Linked DNA regions of Homo sapiens: region 2 is linked to region 1. Evidence: promoter capture Hi-C in human tissues and cell types (Jung and others, 2019). All regions are on one chromosome and are shown on one strand. The core of a region is centred on a gene start or on the middle of the fragment in contact, and the rest is flanking DNA. Distances in the headings are between cores, read along the strand shown.

Region 1 (5,556 bases), core at 1,571-4,070:
CACAGCAGCTGGTACCTGTAGTGACAGCTACTTGGCAGGCTGAGGTAGAAGGATTGTGAGCCCAGGAATATGAAGCTCTCATGCACTAAGATCACACTTGTGAATATCACTGCACTCCAGCCGGGTCCAAACAGCAAGACCAACTCTCTAAAAAAAAATTACATAATAAAATAATTTAAAAAAAAGTTTGTGGTTAGAAAAAAGTTTTTATTTAAGACATTCATTAAAGAAAAAAGTACTTTGAGAAGAGATTAGGGCCAGGCGTGGTGCCTATAATCCCAGCACTTTGGGAGCCCAAGGTGGCAGATCATGAGGTCAAGAGATTGAGACCATCCTGGCCAACATGGTGAAACCCCATCTCTACTAAAAATACAAAAATTAGCTGGGCGTGGTGGCGCATGCCTGTAGTCCCAGCTACTCAGGAGGCTGAGGCAGGAGAATCTCTTGAACCTGGGAGGCGGAGGTTGCAGTGAGCCAAGATTGCACCACTGCACTCCAGCCTGGCCACAGAACAAGACTCTGTCTCAAAAAAAAAAAAAGATATTAGGCCTGGCGCAGTAGCTCACACCTGTAAGCCCAGCATTTTGGGAGGCTGAGGCAGGTGGGTCACTTGAGGTCAGGAGTTCAAGACCAGCTTGGCCAACATGGAGAAACCCGTCTCTACTAAAAATACAAAAATGGCCGGGCGCAGTGGCTAACGCCTGTAATCCCAGCACTTTGGGAGGCCAAGGCAGGTGGATCACCTGAGGTCAGAAGTTCGAGACCAGCCTGGTCAACATGGTGAAACCCTGTCTCTACTAAAAATACAAAAATTAGCTGGGTGTGGGGGCACACGCCTATAGTCCCAGCTACTCAGGAGGCTGAGAAAGGAGAATCGCTTGAACCTGGGAGTTGGAGGCTGCAGTGAGCCGACAGCACACCACTGCACTCCAACCTGGAGCAAGACTCTGTATCAAAAAAAAAAAAAAAAAAAATTTGAAGGCTGGAAAAAGATTAGAAGGCCGGGTGCAGTGGCTCACACCTGTAATCCCAGCACTTTGGGAGACACTGGTGTGGGTCACTTGAGGTCAGGAGTTTAAGACCAGTCTGACCAACATGGTGAAATCCTGTCTCTACTAAAAATATAAAAAATTAGCCTAGCGTGGTGGTGGGTGCCCGTAATCCCAGCTACCCGGGAAGCCAGGAGGTGGAAGTTGCACTGAGCCGAGCTCACACCAACACACTCCAGCCTGGGCAACAGAGTGAGACTCTGTCTCAAAAAAAAAAAAAAAAAAAAAAAAAAAAAAAAAAAAGAGTTTAGAGGCTGGGCATGGTGGCTCATGCCTGTAAAGCCAGCTACTCGGGAGACTGAGGCAGAAGAATCGCTTGAACCCAGGAGGCAGAGGTTGCAGTGGGCTGAGAATGTGCAACTGCACTCCAGCCTGGGAGACAGAGCCCGACTCTGTCTCAAAAAAAAAAAAAAAGAAAACTCGTGAGAACGAATGGCATAAAATACGTAGTGTACCCGATAGCCAGCCATTTATTATAGGATATTTTTGAATAGGAACTTTAGCCTTTTGTTTTGATAAAGCTTTCTGAGGCAGTGAGTCTGACAATGGCACTTCCGTTATCCCTTTAGTGAGTTTCTTAAAATGAGGGCTTGCCACTTAGGTATTGGGCTTTCAATAGGAGGGAAAAGATTTTTCTGACCTTCCTGTATATATATACCTGCCACTTTGCTGGGCTAACCTTATTATTATTATTATTATTTTGAGACGGAGTCTCACTCTGTCACCCAGGCTGGAGTGCAGTGGCGCAATCTTAGCTCACTGCAACCTCCACCTCCTGTATTCAAGCAATTCTCCTGCCTCAGCCTCCTGAGTAGCTGGGACTACAGGCGCCACCACACCTGGCTAATTTTTGTATTTTTTAGTAGAGATGGGGTTTCACCATATTGACCAGGCTGGTCTCGAACTACTGACCTCGTGGTCCGCCTGCCTCGGCCTCCCAAAGTGCTGGGATTATAGGCATGAGCCACTGCACCCGGCCAAACCTCGTATTTTTTTTATGACAGAACTGTCTTAAGGTCTTACTGGAGGTGTGTCTCTCTTAAGAGTTATTTCCAACTCTGTGTCCTAGGTATCTGAGTGAGGCCCCAGCTAAACTACTCCCAAAAATTTTTGCTCCTGGGCTACTGGCATTTATTTCTGAATGCTGTCAAATGACAGTGACTGCAGAAGCTTCAGAATAATTTTGCGATGGTTCCCATGATTTGAGGGAAACACATTTTTACCATGATTGGATTCGGTGGCTTCTAGGAATCTTATGTGAATTAAGCAATCTTCTCGCCTTGGCCTTTCGAAGTGTTGGAGCTACAGGGTTTTTCTCCAGTGTGAGTCCTTTCATGGATTTTAACGCTCGAGGCACATCCAAAGGCTTTACCACATTGTTTACATTCATAGGGTTTCTCTCCAGTGTGAGTCCTTCCATGTGTTCGAAGGTGCGAGGCAGATCTGAAGGCTTTCCCACATTGCTTACATTCATAGGGCTTCTCTCCAGTGTGAGTTCTTTCATGATATCGAACGGAATTGAAAGAAACAAAGGCTTTCCCACACTGTTTACATTCATACGGCTTCTCCCCAGTGTGAGTTATTTTATGTGCATGGAGGCATGTGGAACTATGGAATGCTTTCCCACACTCACTGCATTCATAAGGCTTCTCTCCAGTGTGAGTTCTTTCATGTATTCGAAGGCTACCAGAATGACTAAAGGCTTTACCACACTGTTTACATTCATATGGTTTCTCTCCAGTGTGAGTTCGTTTGTGGATAAGATACAAACTGAGACACATCAAGGCTTTCCCACAAAAGTTACATTTGTAGGGTCCATCTCCACTGTGCATTATCCTGTGTCTTCGAATGCTTGAACGGGAAATAAAGCTTTTTCCACATTCCTCACAATCATAAGGTTTCCCCCCAGTGTGAGCCCATTCATGTGTTCGAAAGTAGGGGAGATCACTGAAGGCTTTCTTACAGTATGTACATTTATATGGCTTCTGTCCATATTCCTGATACTCATATGGCTTGTGTCCAGTGTCAGCTCTGTGGTGCCTATTAAGGGATGCATGACCCACGCTGACTTCTCCACATGATTTTACTCGGGGAGTTTTCTTCTTCAGCATGTCATCTGGAACCTGGGTCAAAATTTCTCCATGCTGATGATCTTTCTTACTTTCTAAGAGTCTCTCTCCCATAAGACCTCTGTGAACAATGAGAAGTATATCATAATGGGTTCCTTTATCACTGATTTGATATTCATTAACAAGTCATTGCACTTGTATTTCTAACACTGTACAGCAATGTGTAGGCTTTCTGCCCTGTCTGAACATGAACAGACCACACATGCTCTACAAGATGGCCCAGCTATACCTGTTATCAAGAAAGATAATATTGATATAGGGCTTCTTAGTACTTTTTAAACATTTTTTGAGATAGGGTCTCACTCTGTCATCCAGGCTGGAGTGCGGTGGTGAGATCTCAGCTCACTGCAACCTCCATCTCCCGATCTGAAGCCGTCCTGCCACTTCAGCCTCCTGATTACCTGAGGCTACAAGCATACCATCGTGCCTGGCTAATTTTTGTATATTTGCTAGAGATGGGGTTTTGTCACATTTCCCTGGCTGGTCTCAAACTCCTAGACTCAAGCAATCTGCCCACCTCAGCCTCTTAAAGCATTAGGATTACAGGCATACACCTGGGCGCCCGGCCAACACTATTTTCAGGTAAACTATTTTACAAGTACTAACTGTCTTTGTCAATTTTATTGCTTCTGAGTCAGGGTCTTGCCCTTTAACCCAGGCTAGAGTGTAATGGTGCTATCATGGCCGAGTGTAGCCTCAAACTCTTCAGCTCAAGCAATCTCTGACCTGAACCTCCCAAAGGGCTGGATTATAGGCTTAAGCCAGGATGTTCAGCCTATGTCACACTTAAATATATGTTTTTAGAGATTTTTTTTTTTTTTGAGACGGAGTCTCGCTCAGTCGCCCAGGATGGAGTGCAGTGGCATGATCTCGGCTCACTGCAATCTCTGCCTCCCGGGTTCATGCCATTCTCCTGCCTCAGCCTCCCAAGTAGCTGGGACTACAGGTGCCCGCCATCACGCCCGGCTAATTTTTTTGGATTTTTAGTAGAGACAGGGTTTCACCATGTTAGCCAGGATGGTTTCGATCTCCTGACCTCGTGATCCGCCTGCCTCAGCCTCCCAAAGTGCTGGGATTACAGGCGTGAGCCACCACAGCCGGCCCTAGAGAAAATTTTGTAAGAATAAATACAGTGGAACTTGGCTTATTTCTTGTTTGCTTCTTTTTAACATTTTCTTCCATTCTATGATTGTCTAGAGAGACATCACTTTCTCTTGTGAATGCGAATTACCTTAGGTTTCTCCTGGGATTTTTGTACTCATCTTCAATTTTCTGATCTTTCCATTTTTTTCCTAAAATACAGAACCAGAAAAATAGTCCTGAATTAGCAAAATTATGAAAAAAGTACTAGATTCTAAGTTCATGGTACACTGCAGCCTTGCAGCATTTATTCACATTCCTATTCCCTGTCCTCACTATTCCCTGTCCACACTCCAAATCACTCAACACTACTGACAAGCTAGAAACACTTGTTCTCTAATTCACTGAGGAAAGTAATATTGTTACCCTTACCTACAGAAGCCAGGTTCCTGAAGGTTTCCTGCATCACATCTCTGTAGAGATTCTTCTGGGAAGGATCCAGCAAAGCCCACTCCTCCTGGGTGAAGTTCACATCTACATCCTCAAAGACCACTGAATCCTGAAACATCCCACATGTGTAAAGAAACATGGGTGAGACTGACAGCACTGGGTTCCTATACTCTATTCCTACAAAGTTTCCATGGTGCTATGGACTCCAAACATTTATTCCATGATCTGGTCATCAGACTTTTTACTCTGTCAACACTCACTCTTCCATAAAGAAATTCTTTTTTTTTAATTATTATTATTTTTTGAGACAGAATCTCATTCTGTCACCCAAGTGGGAGTGCAGTGGCATGATCTTGGCTCACTGCAACCTCCGCCTCCCAGGTTCAAATGATTCTCATGCTTCAGCCTCCCAAGTAGCTGAGATTATAGGCGCCTGCCACCACGCACAACTAATTTTTGTATTTTTAGTAGAGATGGGGTTTTACCATGTTGGCCAGACTGGTCTCCAACTCCTGACCACAAGTGATCCACCAGCCTTGGCCTCCCAAAGTGCTGGGATTACAGGCATGAGCCACCAAGCCTGGCTGAGGCCCTACCAATCTGACTGATAAGAGTCATAACTAACTAAAACAAAAAATCAAGAGCAGAAACCTTTCTTGGAAACTGTGCTTGGGTAGAAAAGCCTGAATTATAACTGATGAATTGCTGGAGGTTGAATGGCAACAAGATTGGAGAGGCAAAAACTCCAGGGTGTCCAGTCTCAACAAAAAGGCAAATATTTATCAAATGTAAAAACTTTTGTGTGAAATGGTGTAAGAGAACACCATCAAGAGAGAAAATGAACCCCA
Region 2 (5,556 bases), core at 1,594-4,093, 640 kb before region 1:
TGTACTCCAGCCTGGGTAACAGAGCAAGACTCCATCTCAAAAAAAAAAAAGGTGGGGGGGGCATCAGGGGAAATAAAGGCAGACCATACCACTTCTTTCTCTGTACAAAATCTTGCACTTAAGAAAAGGCTCCCACCTCACTGGGAGGAAAAACTGGAGTCCTCTCCATGGCTCTGGATGACCTTCCCTGTCACCAATCTGTCCTTGTCTTCCCTTCTCCCCCTCACTCATTGCAGTCCAGCCACACAAGCCTCTTCAGTGTTCCTGGCACACAATAGGCAGGGTCCTGCCTCAGGACCTTTGCCTTTGCTATTCCCTCTGCCTCAACTCTTCCCCAGAGATCTGCATGGCTCCTCCTAGGTTCCTTCATGTCTTTACTGAAATGCTATCTTCTGAATGTGACCACCTTAACTCCCTATTTAAACTTCCAACTCACACTCTTCATTTCACTTTTGTTTTTTCCGTAGCCCCTATCTCTCATGGACGATACAATTTACTTATGTTTCTGGTCTGCAGTAAACAAGCCTTTTGCCAGGTATGGTGGCTCATGACTTTAATCCCAGCACTTCGGGAGGCTGAGGACGGAGGATCCCTTGAGCCGAGGAGTTCGTGACCAGCCTGGGCAACATGGCGAGACCCCCATCTCCATGAAAAATTAAAAAATTAGCCAGGTGAGGTGGCTCCTCTGTAGTCCCAGCTACTTGGGAGACTGAGGCAGGAGGATCCCTTGAGCCTGGGAGGTTGAGGCTGCTGTGAGCTATGAACATGCCACTGTACTCTGGCCTGGGTGACAAAGTGAGACCCTGTCTCAAGAACAAACAAACAGGGCTGGGCACAATGGCTTACACCTGTAATCCCAGCACTTTGAGAGGCTGAGGCCGGAGAATCACTTGAGCCTAGGAGTTTGAAATCAGCCTGGGCAACACAGGGAAACCTCTGTCTCTACAAAAAATACAAAAATTAGCCAGGTGGAGTGACGTGCACCTGTGGTCCCAACTACTCAGGAGGCGGAGGTAAGAGGATCACTTGAACCCACGAGGTTGAGGCTGCAGTAAGCCGTGATCATGCCACTGCATTCCACTCTGGGCGAGAGAGTGAGACCCTGTCTCAAAAAGAAAAACGAGGGCCGGGCGCGGTGGCTCACGCCTGTAATCCCAGCACTTTGGGAGGCCGAGGCGGGTGGATCACGAGGTCAGGAGATCGAGGCCATCCTGGCTAACAGAGTAAAACCCTGTCTCTACTAAAAATACAAAAAATTAGCCGGGCGTGGTGGCGGGCGGCTGCAGTCCCAGCTACTTGGGAGGCTGAGGCAGGAGAATGGCGTGAACCCGGGAGGCGGAGCTTGCAGTGAACGGAGATCGTGCCACTGCACTCCAGCCTGGGCGACAGAGCAAGACTCTGTCTCAAAAAAAAAGAAAAGAAAAGAAAAACGAACAAAAAAACCCCCCAGACCTTTGAACAAGCCATCCCCTCTGCCCACCAGAATGTCCGCTCCATGAGGCAGGTATCTTTGCGCTCCCAGCATTTCCAGTCCTGCTCTTGAGCATATAAGCCAGCCTGCTGTCCTGGGAAAGGGGTGGGTATAACTTAGCAGGATCTGTTTGATTCTTGACTCTCAGAATCTCCCCCCAGAGAAACATGAGAACATGTGTACCTGAAAACCAGGGCAGAACAAGGATTTCCTTGCGGCACTGCTTGTGATACGGAATAAACGTCATCCTCGTAAAAGTTAATACTTAGGGAACCCACTACCTGCCAGGCACTCTTCTAAGCTCTTTGCCTATTTTAACTCAATCATCACATCAACATATAAGGCAGGAAGGGAAAAACTCCATCCACACTGCTCCTTCTCAAGACTGAGAATTTACAAAGACAGGCCTCTCTGCCCTCCACCTGCCAAGCTAACTAGGGGTTTCCTCTTCATCCGAGTCTCCCTGGGCTGAGTTGCTTCACAGAAATAGGTTTAGGGGAGTGCAGTCCAGGTTGTGAAGGGTCCCCCGGATGTGTTGGATCTAGGGTTGTGGGAATGGGGCCATACGGAGTCCCAGATGGGGCACCAGAACTTCAAGAAGGGCAGGGCTGAGTGCCCCAGGGTGTCCAGAGTCCCAGGCCAGGTGGGGAACTAAGCGGGGGAGGATGAGACCGGTGAGGGGGCGGGGCTGCCCCCCCAGGGCCTGGTTAGTTACAAGGCCTGGAGGTGGGGCCAGTCCCAGGATTGGGCCGCCAGAGTTCTAGCGGGCGGGGCCAAGCGCTCAGAAGGCGGGTCGAGGGGCTGGGTGCACCCTAGGATTGGGCAGTCGGAACGATGGGAGGCGGGGCCACGAGCCAGGCGCGTCCCGGCCAGGCAGTACGAGACCCAGGCCGCCGGCCCGGCTCCTGGGCGGGGTCCGCAGGTGCCGGGGGCTGGCCCTAGAAGCGGAGGGGGCGGGGTAAAGCCCGGCGGGGTCTGGGGGCGTCTCCTCCCTCCCTCCCTCGGGGCCAGGCCCCCTCACCCGTGGCGGCCGCTCCGCTGGCCGCGCTCCAGAGAGATGAGGTAGGCGGCGAGCTTGGCGTCGCTCCAGCCGCTGCGGCGCCGCAGGTCCACCCAGGGCCCGTGCGCCTCGCCCAGGTACACGCGCCGCACGTCGTACTTCTTCCGGGACTCGAGCCGTCGCCGGGCCCGGTCCGACTCCGTGAGTCGCGGCCGGCCCCGCGCCTTTCGGCCCGCTGCGCCCTCCTCGGCTGCTGCCTCCCCGCCCGCGCCCGCCTCAGCCTCCGCCTCCGCCTCGGGCTCTAGCGCCCGCTCCGCCATCCCCCCCACCCTGGTTACCAGCCTCCCCCGTTGTTAGGAGCCAGACCGGAAGTGGCGCGCATCTTCGGCGCCGCCGAGAAATTTCTCACGGTCTCTCGCTGCCCCAGGGCGCCAAAAGGAGACCAAGAATGGAAACTGCGCATGCGCACAACCAACAGCGCTCCCGCCCCTTTTTATTTGAATTCGGAGAACCAGAGGCGCCTGCAGATTCTGGAGGGGTCTCGCCTGCCCATCGCTGGCAGCCCGAGATCCTGGGGAGGGGATGCCATACTGCTAGAGATGAGGGAAGAGAGCCCCAAGCAGGAAAACATTGATTTGCTGTACACTCAAAGGGCATCTCATGCCTTCAGTCCACCGCCTCCTCGGGCCACAGCCCGTGCCCTCGCGCCGGCTCAGACTAGCTCTGGCCCTGCTGCTGTCGCTGCAGGTTGTCGTCTTCTTCCTGGTGGTCCTCGGGCAGGGGCGGCTCCTCCAGCCCTGCAGAGGATGTCTGGAGCTCCCGGGTGGACCCGGCGAGGCGGAAGACCACGGGGATCTGGGCCAGGGTTGGGTTGGTCTCCTGCAGGCCCTGGATCCACTTAGCCATCGTCGCCTGGTCATGAGCACCCGCCATGCACATGGCGAAGACAGGGCCTTCCTCCACTGTTGGAAGACATGCACCCTTAAGGTTTGCACAGTGGGGGCTGCAGCGGCTAACCCATGCCTACACCTTTTTGAGGTATTTTACACTCCCTTCCACTTCCTTTTTTTTTTTTTTTTTTTTTTTGAGACGGAGTCTCGCTGTGTCACCCAGGCTGGAGTGCAGTGGCGAGATCTCGGCTCACTGCAACATCCGCCTCCCAGGTTCAAGTGATTCTCCTGCCTCGGCCTCCCGAGGAGCTGGGATTACAGGTGCACAGCACCACGCCGGGCTAATTTTTAAATTTTTAGTAGAGATGGGGTTTCACCATGTTGGCCAGGCTGGTCTCGAATTCCTGACCTCAAATGATCTACCCGCCTCAGCCTCCCAGAGTGCTGGGATTACAGGCGTGAGCCACTGTGCCCGGCTTCCTTCCACTTTCTTGTGCCTCCAAACCTTTGCACAAGCTAGCCCCGCTGCCTAGGCTGCCCACTCCACACTTCACCCGGGCGATGACTCCTGGTTTTTCTGTATTCTGCCAGGAAGGCCTCCTGACCCCCCACTCAAGGCATGCTCCTCTCCTAAGCTCCCCAAAGTGTAATTTGCCTGTTCCCTTGCTGACTCGAGGGACTAGGTTTGTCCTGGTGACACCCAGTAGCCAGCACAGAGTTGTAGGAGGGAGGGAATGAACAAGGGCCAACAGGGCTGGGTGACCTCAGGTCTGGAGCCCCTGGGGCAAATGAGTGTGTGCGGCCGGAGGACGAGGGTGTAAGTGGACTGCGTCTCAGCCTGGGCCTACCCCTTGACCCCAGAGGCCGCCCCTCATCCTGGGTGGTGTTTGGAATGTTTGGAAGTCCTGCCTGTCCAGGTTTTTGCCTTTTTTTTTTTTTTTTTTGACACAGGGTCTATCATGTAGGCTGGAGTGCAGTGGCTCTATAATAGTTCACTGCAACCTCAACTCCTGGGCTCAAGTGATCCTCCCACCTCAGCCTGTAGGAGGGCTGGGATTACGAGCACACATGTGAGCCACCGCACCTGGCCCAGTTTTTACCTTCATTGATGTCAAACTCGTAGTTGTCCCAGCCACTCCTCACATACTCCAGGTCCAGCTGCATCGGGTAGTAGAGGTTCCACTCCTCCGGCGTCTCTTCCACTTCCTACTCCAAGGTGGGGAGTGCAGGCGGGGTCAGAGGCCAGGGCTCTCTCGGTCTCCCTCCTCCAGCCTCTCCCATGCACCCTCAGGGTAGTGCCAGCCCACTCCCCAGCCCCAACACATGCTTTGCTTTAAGCCCTCACCCTCTCCTCCGGGGGCAGCAAGTCAGCTCTGAGGATGTGGTAATACACACACTTGTTGCGGAGCCACAGGGAGAAGGGGCCCTCAACAAAGACAGGCCGGGCTGGATTGTGGCGGGCCAGGGCGGCCTGCTGATCGGGACTCTGGATTCCTGGTGTGGAGACATACATGCCCTGTGCCCTGCAAGGGACTCGGCCCAGAGGCCCAGGGAGCCCAGCCTAGGCCCAGCGAGAACCTGGCAGGGCCTGGGTAAGGTTAGAGACTTGGCTGCCCCCATGCTCTCGGACTTACCTACGATGTGGGGCTGGGGGGGATCTGCTGCACCTGTTGAGTCTTTGGGCAAAGGAACCTGCAAGGGAGAGTAGGGATATAATCTTGTAACCCCCAATCCCCTACAGAGGAACTGGGGACAGAGAAACAGAAAGGGGGATACCAGGGAATTCAGGACACCTCTCCTGGATCTGGTACACGGCCCTCCAACCTGTCCCCTCCTCCCTCTGTCCCATTTGGCAATAACCACCAATCTTTAGGATGCTCACCCTGAGGGAACTACCCTAGAACCAGCCCACCTTTGTCAAAATCCTGGCTCTGTCACAAGCTGTGTGACCTTGGCCAAGTCACTGTACCTGTGTGCCTCAGTTTCTCCAGATGCACAATAGGGATGATAACAGCACTTAATTCCGATTTTTTTTTTTTTTTTAGGGATGGGGGTCTCCCTCTCTGTCATCCATGCTGGAGAATGGTGGCATGATCATAGCTCACTGTAGCCTTGAACTCCTGGGCTCAAGTGATCTTCCTACCTCAGTCTCCCAAGTAGCTGGGTCTACAGGTGCACACCACTATGCCTGGCTA

What was found. Contacts are between HindIII fragments. The study calls those that stand out against the background at their distance.
Region 2: a contact is called between the fragment with the promoter of ZNF653 here and a fragment that was not itself captured in region 1, in 1 of the 25 tissues and cell types used here (dorsolateral prefrontal cortex).

What each region holds. Positions count from the first base shown.
Region 1 is chr19:12,142,986-12,148,541 of GRCh38, forward strand. ZNF625 (zinc finger protein 625) reads right to left here. Exons shown (of 4, transcript NM_145233.4): 2 at 4,691-4,817; 3 at 4,410-4,470; 4 at 1,905-3,239. The coding sequence ends at 2,312. ZNF625-ZNF20 (ZNF625-ZNF20 readthrough (NMD candidate)) reads right to left here. Exons shown (of 8, transcript NR_037802.1): 2 at 4,691-4,817; 3 at 4,410-4,470. Among named protein-coding and RNA genes, the nearest start is that of ZNF20, 5.4 kb to the left of the region's middle. The HindIII fragment of the contact is 6,147 bases long and covers 1-5,556 here.
Region 2 is chr19:11,502,996-11,508,551 of GRCh38, forward strand. ZNF653 (zinc finger protein 653) reads right to left here and starts at 2,844. Exons shown (of 9, transcript NM_138783.4): 1 at 2,493-2,844. The coding sequence starts at 2,791. ECSIT (ECSIT signaling integrator) reads right to left here. Exons shown (of 8, transcript NM_016581.5): 5 at 4,996-5,053; 6 at 4,707-4,855; 7 at 4,462-4,567; 8 at 2,934-3,433. The coding sequence ends at 3,189. RefSeq lists enhancers at 1,940-2,009, 4,462-5,239 and silencers at 2,160-2,829, 2,990-3,039. The HindIII fragment of the contact is 10,042 bases long and covers 1-5,556 here.